Regions from separate parts of the Homo sapiens genome. Here regions 1 and 3 are each linked to region 2. The links are contacts of gene promoters, found by promoter capture Hi-C in human tissues and cell types (Jung and others, 2019). All regions are on one chromosome and are shown on one strand. The core of a region is centred on a gene start or on the middle of the fragment in contact, and the rest is flanking DNA. Distances in the headings are between cores, read along the strand shown. Region 1 has its middle 18 kb from the start of CYP11B1. Region 2 holds the start of GPIHBP1 (glycosylphosphatidylinositol anchored high density lipoprotein binding protein 1). Region 3 overlaps LY6K (lymphocyte antigen 6 family member K).

Evidence for each region. The method cuts DNA at HindIII sites, captures the fragments that hold promoters and counts their contacts. A contact is called where the count stands out against the background at its distance.
Region 1: a fragment that was not itself captured here is called in contact with the fragment with the promoter of GPIHBP1 in region 2 in 4 of the 25 tissues and cell types used here (lymphoblastoid cells, mesendoderm cells, spleen and 1 more).
Region 3: a contact is called between a fragment that was not itself captured here and the fragment with the promoter of GPIHBP1 in region 2, in 4 of the 25 tissues and cell types used here (dorsolateral prefrontal cortex, lymphoblastoid cells, mesendoderm cells and 1 more).

The regions. Positions count from the first base shown.
Region 1 is chr8:142,896,016-142,900,050 of GRCh38, reverse strand. No RefSeq gene overlaps it. Among named protein-coding and RNA genes, the nearest start is that of CYP11B1, 18 kb to the right of the region's middle. The HindIII fragment of the contact is 4,037 bases long and covers 379-4,035 here.
Region 2 is chr8:143,211,547-143,215,597 of GRCh38, reverse strand. It overlaps GPIHBP1 (glycosylphosphatidylinositol anchored high density lipoprotein binding protein 1), which reads right to left and starts at 2,380. Exons shown (of 4, transcript NM_178172.6): 1 at 2,279-2,380; 2 at 1,648-1,776; 3 at 472-585; 4 at 1-339. The coding sequence starts at 2,330. The coding sequence ends at 80. The HindIII fragment of the contact is 48,923 bases long and covers 1-4,051 here.
Region 3 is chr8:142,704,500-142,708,786 of GRCh38, reverse strand. LY6K (lymphocyte antigen 6 family member K) reads right to left here. Exons shown (of 3, transcript NM_017527.4): 3 at 3,660-4,287. LNCOC1 (lncRNA associated with ovarian cancer 1) reads left to right here. Exons shown (of 3, transcript NR_038925.1): 2 at 369-472; 3 at 1,208-4,287. Among named protein-coding and RNA genes, the nearest start is that of LY6K, 6.5 kb to the right of the region's middle. The HindIII fragment of the contact is 5,820 bases long and covers 1-4,287 here.

The sequences.
Region 1 (4,035 bases), core at 1,148-3,647, 320 kb after region 2:
ACCACCTCTGGTACGGTAGCTGCAATTGGAGTGGTGGCTTGGTTAATCTTACAAAAATCTGCTTTTCTCCAAGATTCATCTGTCTTCTGCACAGGCAAAACAGGAAAGTCGAATGGGGATGTGGCAGGAATCTTCACCTGTGCATTTTTCAGGTTCTGACTGGTAGCTCTAATCTCTGCCATCCGTCTAGGAATGTTACGCTTTTGGCTATTTTTCTTGGTAGACACAGTTCTAATGGCTTCTACTTGGTCTTTTCCACTATAATATCTCTCACTGCATAGAAGAGGGAACGAGTGTGGGGATTCTGCCAGTTGTTGACTATGAATATTCCAATTCTGCTTGAATTGTGGCGATAACCACAGGATGGATCCTGCAGGAGGATACTTGGAGGATAATCTGCTTTACTCAAAACCTACTTCTTTAAATGATGGTAAAACCTAAAAATGCCTTTCCACCAAAATCCAGACTAGTGTTTGACCAAAAACTATACCATAGCTTAGTTAATGACATATAAAATTAACCATCAGAACTCTTTTTTTTTTTTTTTTTTTTTTTTGAGACGGAGTCTCGCTCTGTCACCCAGGCTGGAGTGCAGTGGCGTGATCTCGGCTCACTGCAAGCTCTGCCTCCCGGGTTCACGCCATTCTCCTGCCTCAGCCTCCCAAGTAGCTGGGACTACAGGTGCCCGCCACCACGCCCGGCTAATTTTTTTGTATTTTTAGTAGAGACGGGGTTTCACTGTGTTAGCCAGGATGGTCTCGATCTCCTGACCTCGTGATTCACCCGCCTCGGCCTCCCAAAGTGCTGGGATTACAGGCGTGAGCCACCGTGCCCGGCCACAACTCTTTTATCAATATATAATGACCTTCTTTGTCTTTTGTAACTTTTTTACATAAAGACTATTTTGTCTTATATTAGCATAGCCATCCAAGCTCCCTGGTTACTATTCCCATGAAATACCATTTTTCTACCTTTCACTTTCAACCTATTTGCATCTTTGGATATGATGTGAATCTGTTGAAGACCGCATGTAGTGGATCACAATTTTTATCCATTCTGCCTTTTCAATGGAGAGTTTGAACCATTTATATGTAAAGCAATTACTGATAAATAAGACAACTTCTATAATTTTTCTATTTGTTTTCTCTAGGTCTTCTACTGTTTATTTGTATCACAGAAATACAAAGGATTATAAGGCAATAGTGGAATCTATTTCTTTAGCTTGCATTAATCTGATGTTTTGACAAATTTGAGAGAGATTTTCTCCTTGAACACCAGGAGGAAAAGAAAAGAAAGAAAAAAAGAAAAGAAAAGAAAGAGGGGAAAAATAAAAAGACAAGAAAAATAATCACACTGTCTTTGTCTTTGCAGTTTGGGCCTGTTTTCGGGGCACTCCTGTAAACACAGCCAACACTGTCTTTGTCTTTGCAGTTTGGGCCTGTTTTCGGGGCACTCCTGTAAACACAGCCAACACTGTCTTTGTCTTTGCAGTTTGGGCCTGTTTTCGGGGCACTCCTGTAGACACAGCCAACACTGTCTTTGTCTTTGCAGTTTGGGCCTGTTTTCGGGGCACTCCTGTAGACACAGCCAACACTGTCTTTGTCTTTGCAGTTTGGGCCTGTTTTCGGGGCACTCCTGTAGACACAGCCAACACTGTCTTTGTCTTTGCAGTTTGGGCCTGTTTTCGGGGCACTCCTGTAGACACAGCCAACACTGTCTTTGTCTTTGCAGTTTGGGCCTGTTTTCGGGGCACTCCTGTAAACACAGCCAACACTGTCTTTGTCTTTGCAGTTTGGGCCTGTTTCCAGGGCACTCCTGTAAACACAGCCAACACTGTCTTTGTCTTTGCAGTTTGGGCCTGTTTTCGGGGCACTCCTGTAAACACAGCCAACACTGTCTTTGTCTTTGCAGTTTGGGCCTGTTTTCGGGGCACTCCTGTAAACACAGCCAGGAGGATTATAATTAGACACTGTCTTAGCATCTGTCCTGCCCTAGGAGCTTGTGGTTTTCTAGATTTCCCAGCATAGGTTGGCATTTCAAATCCTCTAGCTTCTCAAAGAAACACTCTTCCAAGCTTTTTCTTCTAGTGTTTTGACAAAGTTTTTTTTTCTTTCCTCAAGTTGAATCTTTTGCCTTTGATGATATCAGGTTACTCAGCTGCCTTACAATATTTTTGATGCGGGTCTTCCATAGCTACTTTTCCACTTGAATACATTCCAAGTTAGGCAAAACAAAGGCAAGGCCCTTGCATCAGTTCCTCAGGTAGTCCACAGAAAGGTTAGAACAAATAATGACAATTTTGGGGAATAAGCGCTGCCCTGATCCTTCTGTCTCCAGACCCCAGCATCCCACACTGGTAGCTTGAGCTGCCATCTTCAAAGACAGCCACTGATCTGGGGTGGGCAAAGCCAGAGCAAGTAAAGATACAGGAAAGCTTCTCTACAATGTAAGAGTTGTCACTTTCTTCATGTAGCATTTATGTGGTGGCCAGAAATAATTATTTTCCAGAGCCCTGACAAAGTTAATTTGTGCAGTTTTTGCTTGTTTTTTGAATGTTACTGTGATGGGTCACACATTTAGAGCTGCCCACCGCATTTTTGCTGAAGTCCTGGATTTCTTTGGCGATTTTAGAAATTAATAAAATTGGATGTAGTGATAGTTGTACATATTTGTGACTATACTACCAACCTTTAATTGTATACTTTCAGTAGGTGAATTATATGGTATGTGAATAACTTCTCAATAAAGCTATTTAAAAATAGAATCAGGCCAGGCATGGTGGCTCACCCCTGTAATCCCAGAACTGTGGGAGGCTTAGGCCGGACTTCAATACAACACTTTTAGCAATAAACAGATCATCCAGACATAAAATCAATAAGGATAAATCAGAATTGAATACATTTTAGACTAAATGAATCTAACAGAAATATACAAAACATTCGATCCAACAGTAGCGCAGTACACCTTCTTCTCAAGTGCACACAGATCATCCTCCCACATAGATAATATGTTAGATGAAAGAACAAGTCTTAAATTTAAGAAAATTAAAATCGTATCAAGTATCTTTTCTGGCAACAATATAAAACTAAGAAATCAATAGCAGCAGGAATTACAGAAAATTCACAAATATATAAAAATTAAACAACATGAACAACCAATGGGTCAAAGAAGAAATTTAAATAAAAAATTTAAAATATGTTGAGACAACTGAAAATGGAAACACAGTAGAGCAAAATATATGTAATGCAGTAAAAGCAGTTCTAAGAGGGATGTTTACAGCAACAAATGCCTGCATGAAAAAAGAAGAAAAATCTCAAATAAACAATGTAACATTACACCCAAAGGAACCAGATAAAGAAAAAAATAAAACCAATGTTAGCAGAGGGAAGGAAATAAGATCAGAGCAGAAGTAAACAAAATAAAGATTCCAAAAGCAATACAAAAAATCAACAAAACTAAGAGTTGGTTTTTTGAAAAGATAAACAAAATCAACAATCCTCTAGCTATACCAAATAAGAAAAAAAGAAGACTTGGGGTAAAATCAGAAGTAAAGGCTCAGAAGTAAAATCAGAAATGAAAGAAAAGACATTGTAACTGAAACCACAGAAATACAAAGCATTATAAGATTCTACTATGAATTATTGATTAACAACACATTAGATGACCTAGAAGAAAAGGATAAATTCTTAGACACACACAACCTACCAAGGCTGCATTATGAAGAAATATAAAATCTGAATGAGAGAAGAGAGACAGACCTTCTCATATTGTTTTATGTTGTTTTATACTCTGAAAAGGAAAGAGAAGCCAAACTAAAGGCAGGTGCCCCGGCGCCTAGGAACCAGACCCAAATCCAAGAAACCAGAACCGAAACCAAGCCTGGGCCTGACCTAAGCCTGGTAGTTAAAATTCGACCCCTGACCTAGCAACTGCTGTTATCTACAGATTACAGAAAGACATTGTAAAACTTCCCGGTCTGTTCTGTTTCACTCTGACCACCGGTGCATGCAGACCCTGTCACCTACCCCGTTTACT
Region 2 (4,051 bases), core at 1,131-3,630:
GGGGCAGGAGGGGAAGGTACCAGACAGAGTGCTGGCAGGGCCGGGGGTGAGCCGGGTGGGGGTGGGGAGGGGCCGTGGGTCAGGGTCTCCTGGCCCCCATTGCTCCAAGGCCGGCAAGGAGGTTGAGCAGGAGGGCTGCGCCCACAGTTTCGGAGCTGCCCCGGGGGCCGCCTGCCCCCTTGCCTGTTGGGTCCTGGACTCGGGAGCTTTGCCAGGGTGGGACATTGCACAGGCTGGACTGGCAGCAGGTCATGGTCACCTGGGTCCCCTCCACCGTCTTGGTGATGGGCTGGCAGCTGTCTGTGCACCACGTGGAGTGGGTGGTCAGGAGGCCTGACTCTGGGAAGGGGAGTGGGGAACAAGTGCTGAGGATGGGCGGGGTCTCTGAGGTGGCTCTGCAGGGCTCTGTTCCGGGCCCCTGGCTTTCCCGCCGCCTGGGGGTGCATGTGCTGCGGCCCCACGCCCACTTACCGGTGTTCCCGTGGGCAATGAGGGTTGTGCAGGTCTGGCCATGTGAGCAGTTCTGCGTCAGGTTGCAGCGCTCGTCCCTGGGCAGGGACTTGCAGGTGTAGCACCGCAGCAGCACTGGGGACAAGGCGGGCTCAGGCCGAGGCCGGGCCCCCCAGGGTCTCCTCCCACGTCCCTGTCCACCTCCCCGTTCTCAGCTGTGCTCCCAAAGCCTAGCCTGGTGAGCCTCCAGCACCCACTGCTCAGATGGGCGGGCGACCCCTGACTTGGTCCTGTAAGCTGTGCTGTGTGCGTGAGCCTGTGTGTTTAGGGGGCAAGGGATTGCGGGTCAGGCAGGGCGAACTTCCCATCATCACTCACGTCCTGCGACAATGCTGCCCAGGCTCCTGCCGTGGTCACAGAAACCTGGAGGTGGGTCTGACTCAGTCCTGCCTCCAGGAGCACCAGGCCTGGCAGAGGAGGGCCTCACAGGGGACACCTCGTGGGTGTGTGGGGCAGGGCTCGTGCTGAGGGCAGGCTTGGGGCTCCTGGGAGGGGGGTGGGCTGTGTGTGGTGGGGCATGCTGGGGGCCCTGGCTAGGGAGGGGCTGTGTGTGGTGGGGCACGCTGTGGTCCCTGGCTAGGGAGGGGCCGGCCCTCGGGTTGGATGCGGCGATTTGCTCTGCTTTTCTCGGGATGGGAGAGAGCAGAGGGTGGCCCACGTGTAGGGGTGTGTCAGGTGGGCAGTGAGGGTGGGCTCTTCTTAGCCCTACTCTGCTCTGCTCTAAGCGGTTCCCTGGCTCCCCAGCCCGCAGCAGCCAATCCAGCCCTCCCCTGTACAGGACCGGCCCACCCTGCTGCTCTCTCTGCCCCACAAAACTGAACCCTACCCTGGGGCCTCTGTGCTTGTGTCTCCACCCTAGGCCCCCACTGAGCCCTTCTCTGCCTGGTGAACTCCTATTTAACCTCTACATCCTGGCACCACTGACCCTCCCAGCTGGTGGCTTCTTCCCCTGTTCCCTACTCTGGAAGGCAACTGAGTGTCATGGTGAGCAGCAGTGAGGGGTGTACTGAGTGTCCCCCACTCTGCTGGAGGCAAGCTCACAGCAGGACTGTGGCCTGCTGGCTTCCATCACACAGCCCCGCCCAGAATGCTCCAGGCAGATCAGGCAGCAGGGCTCTGGGGTTGGGGCGGCCATACCTCTGCTCCTGCCACCAGGGAGCCTGTTGGTCTCCTCCTCTTCCACCTCATCCTCATCTTCCTCGTCGTAGTCATCTGGCCCGTGGTCCTCGTCCTCTTCCTCTTCCTCCTGCTGTGTCTGCCCTCTCCCTGGCCGTGCAGGGATGCTTGTAAGCCTCAGCTACCCGGGTATGGAGGACACCTGCTCTGGGCAAGCATCGTGCCCCCAACTCCTTGGCCCTCCCCAGCCATCCTCGGGCCCCAGGGTGGCTGGGGAGGGCCCCTACCCTGAACACCCTACTCACCCTACTCACTGTCCTGCAGCCTACTCACCCTACTCACTGTCCTACTACCCTACTCACCCTACTCACTGTCCTGCAGCCGAGTGTGCCCTGGCATTGTAGTTACAACAGCAGCTGCTGTGGGCTGGCCCTTTATGGTAGCCCCTCCCCGCACCCCACATAAACAGGGGCGCAGATATTTGGGGACTCTCGGGGACCCAGGCCAGCTTCCATCCATGCTGCTCTGGGCTGGGGACTCCAGCCTCATCCCCTCCTTCTTCCTAAGCCCCTGCTGGGGGTCCCTGGAGGTCCCTGTGCTCCAGGACTGCTGTTGCTGCCCCCTCACCGCAGGGTTACCCTTTGCCCCGCACCTGGCCGCCCGAACAGCAAGAGGGCAAGCAGGACAGCCCCGAGCGCCTTCATCTCGCCGGACGCTGCTGTGTCCCTGACTCTGAGTCCTCCCGCAGGGCTCTGGAGCTGCGGTAAGTGGGATGAAGGGCATTGCCGTGGGCTTCCTAGTGGCCCCCACCAGCTCCAGCCTCAAACAATGGGCCTCACACTGGTCCCCAGCTCCAGGCGCCAGGCCAGGGACTGTTGTTTCCCTCCAGGACATCTGGGGCCAGAGGGGAAGGAGAAGTCATTGTGGTTGGCCTTGGAACGTCCTGTGCACCCGTGCCACGGCAGGTGGAAGGTGGTGCTGGCCCTCGCCTGGCTTGCCGCTCAGTGCCTCAGCCCTGCAGTGCAGGGCAGGGAGCCTCGCCCCGGAATGGGCCATGCCTGACACCCCTCAACCCCATGTCTGGGCTCCATAGTCACAGGACCTTGGGGTCACAGACCCTCTATTTGCTGGTCACTGGCCAAGCATCGTCATCCTAGAGTCAGCATCACACCCAGGCCCCTTTAAGAGCATTTAAGTAAAAACACAGTCAATGCCCTCAAGCTAAGGCTGCGTGCTCACCTCCTCCTCACCCACACTCAGCAATGCACTGCTAGGCCCAAGGCCTCCCGGCTGCCCCTCACTATCACCTCGGGTCTTTGCCCCTGCTGCTCCATCTGCAGTGCTGTTCCTGCTGGTGTCCGGTGGAGAGCTTTCTGGAGCTCTTGGGGGCCCGCCCCCTCGGTCTCTTGCTGGGAAAGCCATCAGCACCCACCTGCCTTCTGGCCTTGTGTGAGAGACGGGCTGCTCTGGGAGAGGCTTGGAAAGCCCAGGTCGCTCCCTGAGGCCACCCCCTCCTCTCAAGACCCCACCCAAGCCCTTGGGGGGTGCTGATGCAGAGTGCAGAGTCGAGGCTCTGAGCTGCCCCTCTCCCAAGGGCAGCAGAGGGGTGGGGCAGCGGCAGGGGCTGGACGTCCGGAGCCAGGGTCAAGCCTGAGCGTCTCTGTGTGCCTTGGTGCTTGGGCCAGGCACTTCACCTACTGAGGCCTCAGTTTCCCCGACTGTCAATGGGTGGGGTGGGGCATTTTCTGGCCGGCCACCTGTAACAGAGGTTGAGTTGGTTCTGGAGTGAGCTACCTGGGTTTAAGACCCGGTTCCTCCTTCCCCCGGCTGTGGGTTCTGGACTAGCCCCTTGGGTTCCCCAGGCCTCAGCTCCCTCATAGGGTGAGGTGACCATCAAGGGTCAGTACCTGCTGGGCTTAGGACAGCGCCTGAGGCTGGGAATACCTGTCTCTAATGTCCCAGCCACCGAGTCAACCATCCTTCCTTAATTCACCTGAACCTGTCATTCTTTCCACTCTACCGGCACCCACCCAGCATCTAGCCCTTCCCCAGCCAAGGCTGCAAGGTCACTTGCCAAGCCAGGGTCTCCCATAGTGGTGCCCACGCCACAGCCGGACACGCCCCGCCAGCCCCAAACTCTTCATACCTGATGCCTGTCCCCCCCAGCCCCGTCCCGCCCCGCCCCGCCCCGCCCTTCCCTGCCCCTCCGCGCGTGGCCCCACCCCCACCCGCCTCCCTGCGCCCTCTCGCCCTCGGCCCGCCTCCCCCACGCCCCGCCTCCCCCACTGCCCCGCCTCCCCCACTGCCCCGCCTCCCCCACTGCCCCGCCTCCCCCCACGCCCCGCCTCCCCCACTGCCCCGCCTCCCCCACTGCCCCGCCTCCCCCCACGCCCCGCCTCCCCCACTGCCCCGCCTCTCTCACGCC
Region 3 (4,287 bases), core at 1,233-3,732, 510 kb after region 2:
TAATCCCAGCACTTTGGAAGGCCGAGGCAGGCGGATCACCTTAGGTCAGGAGTTTGAGACCAGCCTCGCCAATATGGCAAAACCCTGTCTCTACTAAAAGTACAAAAATTAGGTGGGTGTGGTGGCAGGTGCCTGTAATTCTGTCTACTCAGGAGGCTGAGGCAGGAGAATAGCTTGAACCCAGGAGGAGGAGGAGGCTGCAGTGGGCCAAGATCTCGCCACTGCACTCCAGCCTGGGTGACAAGAGCGAGACTTCATGTCAAAAAAAAAAAAAAAAAAAAGAGATGCATCCCTTTGGGAGGCACCCCTCATGAATGTGATTCATGCCTTTATGAAAGAGACTGAAGGGAATGTCTTTGCCTCTTTAGGTCTTTCCAGAGACACATAGAAGGTGCCATCTATGAGGAACAGGCCTTCACCAGACATCAAATCTGTTGGCATCTTGATCTTTGACTTCTCCACCGCCAGAACTGTGAGCAATAAATTTCTGTTCTTTACAAATTAATTAGTCTAAGGTCTTCTGTTATAGGTGGCTATCTAATGGGGCAGATTGTTGGGAACAAGTTTCTATACTCTTTATTTTTCTTATACTACATGACTAAATTCTCCACTTTAATGTTTTATTGCAGTGGTAACAATGTATAGGCTTATCATGTTTTTGCACTTAGATAGAACACTTCTAATGCTTCACCACTAAGTATGGTGTTTGCTTGAGGTTTCTGGTAAGTAACTTTTTTCAAAATATTGAAATTGCCTTCTATTCTTAGGTATCCAGGATTTTTAAAATGTTATAACTGAACGTTGATTATCATTTGGTTATTATTGCGTATTCTCTTGCTATGGTGAGTGGTATCTTTTCCTAAGATTTTTATTGTTCTCGCATTTCTGGGATAAATTGTACTTATCATAATGTATTAGTATTTTCATACACTTGGATTTGATTAGCCAATATTTTATTTATCTTTTGTTCACAATTATGATGGCTTCTAATTTCCTTTCTTGTGCTGTTTCTGTTTTATAGTATCAGTTTTGTGTTTGACCATAAAAGAATTTAGTCAGTAATAGTTTTTTAGTGCTTGAGATAGAAAGGCATTTCAGAGACCTGGACATGTTTGTTTGACCAAGCAGAGCTTTCAGAAAGTCTAGCTGTTTGGAAATTTATGAATTACTTCATGTGTATTACAGGAGGGTCGTTTTCTGTTTTCAGAGATCAAGACATGAAACCCATGTTCAAGATACTTTCCAGTGTGTCTTCATGTGATCCTCTGAGTCCAGCCATCAGGCTACCAGCAGCTCTTGGAAACCCTGACATACTTATTCTTAGAAGACTGCTTTCCGGACTCAAAGTGGAACCTCAAATTTTCAATTTTCTTTGTTTTTAAAGCCTACACATAGGTGATGATATATACATGCATATATATTTTGGAGAATTTATAATTCTGAAAACAATGCTGGTCTTATGGAACCCATCCATTCCCCTTTCCCCGTGTGTGCTCCGAGCTGTGGTGGCACGTGAAAAGGGGTCCTTCCAGCAGTGGCCCACAGCCCTGGGCTGCTTACTTGCTCACTTCATTTACAAGAGCAAGAAATACACATTCTTGTGTTGTTTAAGTCATTATGATGTGGGGATTTCCATTACTCACACACCTGATCTAGTAGTAACACAGTAGCCTATTTTAGCAATATCATTTATTCAATAATCCATTCTTTCCCCATTAGTTTTGAGCCTTCATTTATTGTGTACTAAGTTCTGGTTATTTTTAGTGGTTGTAATCTCCTTCTTTCCTACTCTCTTAATCATGGGATTGCCAATATCTGCTCTGTGTTTCTGTGCCATCTATAGCCTCTGGCCTTGGTACTGCTTCAAAACTGATATTTCTAACCTTACTTTGACTTCTCCATTCAGTGAAGTTCCCATAGTTCATCACTCAACTGCTCTCTTTCCATCGTGACCTTCTGAACTAGCTCACACCCAGATGTACTTTTGTTATCTGCCTTTCCCCCTCATAAACATGGGCTGCTGCTGGGGAAAATCCACTACCGAACTCTTGCAGGTCTCTGCAAATGTTTAATGCCCTGTCTTAGCCATGACCTCCACAATGCTGGGCTATCCTATGTTATGTCCCCTAAGATATCCCTTCTCTCTTACCTTTGGGGATAGTCCTAAGCTTCCATCATGGCACTCAAAGTCCAACCTTATTTGTACCCTCATTCTCTGAGCAGACACCACCGTATTCTGTTTCACAGAGAAAATGTGACTGCTGGGGATAATTCTTTCAACTTCCTGGCCTCTTCCTATACATGATCTTTCTCTGTATTCTTGCCTATTGCTCTTCCATGTTGATAGAAGTGTCTGTTCTCCTTGTCAGTGTCTCGGCCTTGGATCTGTCCCCTAGACTATTCTGCCTGTGTAAGGACCTTCCCTGACCAGCTGGGCCACCATCTCCTGCTTCTCCAATCCCTCACTCTAGACTGACTCTTAACCTTTGGTCAACAATACTTGAGCTTTTACATTCATAATGGAGCATCTGTGTTGAACCTTGTTCTTTTCTAGACACTACCCTCCGTTCTGTCTTCCATCCATGGTGACTTTTCTAGAAAGAGCATCTATCACACTGGAGACAGCAAACTCCTTGATCCATTCTAATTCCTAACCCTGCAATAATTTTCTATCTCCCTTACTCAAGTAATTGGGAGTGCTCCTAGTGTTACCAGAGACCCAGCAGTTCCCAATTTCGAATTTTTCCGTATTCACATTTCTTGACTTGCTATGATTTTACATCACAGATTACATCCTTCATTTGAAGAGACTCTAATGGAAGGCTGCCATGGAAACTCTCTCATGTGGCTGACCTCCTACCTCACTTGCTCTTTCTGAATGAAGTTCCCACTTTTGCCTGCCTTAATGAAAGTAATGCTCCCCAAACTCAAGCCCAGGGCTGCGAATTGGAAGCAGCTGGGGCTACTGTTTCTGGGTGCTGGTGTGAATGGCAGGATGTGAACACCAGCCTGTGACGGGCAAAAAGATGGACACACAGGCAGAGCCTGACAGGTGCTGGTGGTCCTATCTGGTCCTGAGTTGCTGGGACCCTCCTTGCCCACTGCCCCTAGAATGGACTTTGGCCTCAGGTTCGAAGTGTTCAGATGTGACTGAGATGAGCCTTTTCCCCATGCCTCAGGAATAGCGAAGAAACTCTATCTGGAAGGTTCCCCAGGCTTCCCCACCCAGCAGCCTCTGGTATTAGACCAGGCAGTGGCTGGCCAGGATGGTGGGGACAGAAGGGAGACAAAGGTGAGCAGTGGGTGGGGTCACATCCTCCCTGACATTGAATAGACAACATGGGGAGGAAGGATGAGTGATCTTTAGAATGTTCATGGAAAATGCATATTGGGAAAAAGAATGCATGAATTTCAAATTGTTTTGCAACAAAATAAACTTGTACTAACTTGTGAAAACACGTCCGAACAGGATCTAGTTTGAGGCCCTAAGAAGTATAAGACAACAGTTTGAACAGAGCTCCTATCAGACACATGAATTCTGCTAAAATTGAAACCAGAACAAACATGCAATTGATGGTGAAGCTTGGCTGGAAACATGGTGAAATCATTGATGATTTATTGAAAGTTTATAGGGACAATGCCTCAAAGAAATCAGCAATTTAAGTAAGTGGATAACTCATTGGAAGAAGAGAAGAGATGATGTTGGAGAGGAAGTCCACAGCAGCAGGCCAGCCACATCAGTCTGTGAGGAAACAATTCATCTTGTTTGTGCCCTAATTTAAGAGGACTGATTAATAGCAGCAGAAACAATAGCCAACGCTGTAGGTATCCCAAGGTGTTCAGCTTACACAATTCTGACTGAAATTAAAGTTGAGTAAACTGTCCACTCGGTGGGTGCCAAAACTTTCTCCCAGCTCAGCTGCAGATAAGAGAAAAGCGTTCTATGGCCATTTTAAACAAGTGGAATCAAGATCCTGAAGCATTTCTTCATATAATTATAGCCGGAGATGAAATGTGGCTTAACCAGTACACTCCTGAAGGCAAAGCACAAGCAAAGCAATGACTACCTAGAGGTGGGCGTGGTCCCATCAGAGTAAAAGCAGACATGTCAAGGGCAAAGGTCGTGGCAACCGTTTTGTGAATGCTCAAGGCATCTTGCTTATTGACTTTCTGGAGGGCCAAAGAACAGTAACATCTTATTATGAGAGTGTATAGAGAAAGTCAGCCAACGATTTAGCAGGAAAACACCCAGGAAATCGTCACCCCGGAAAGCTTCACCAGAGAGCC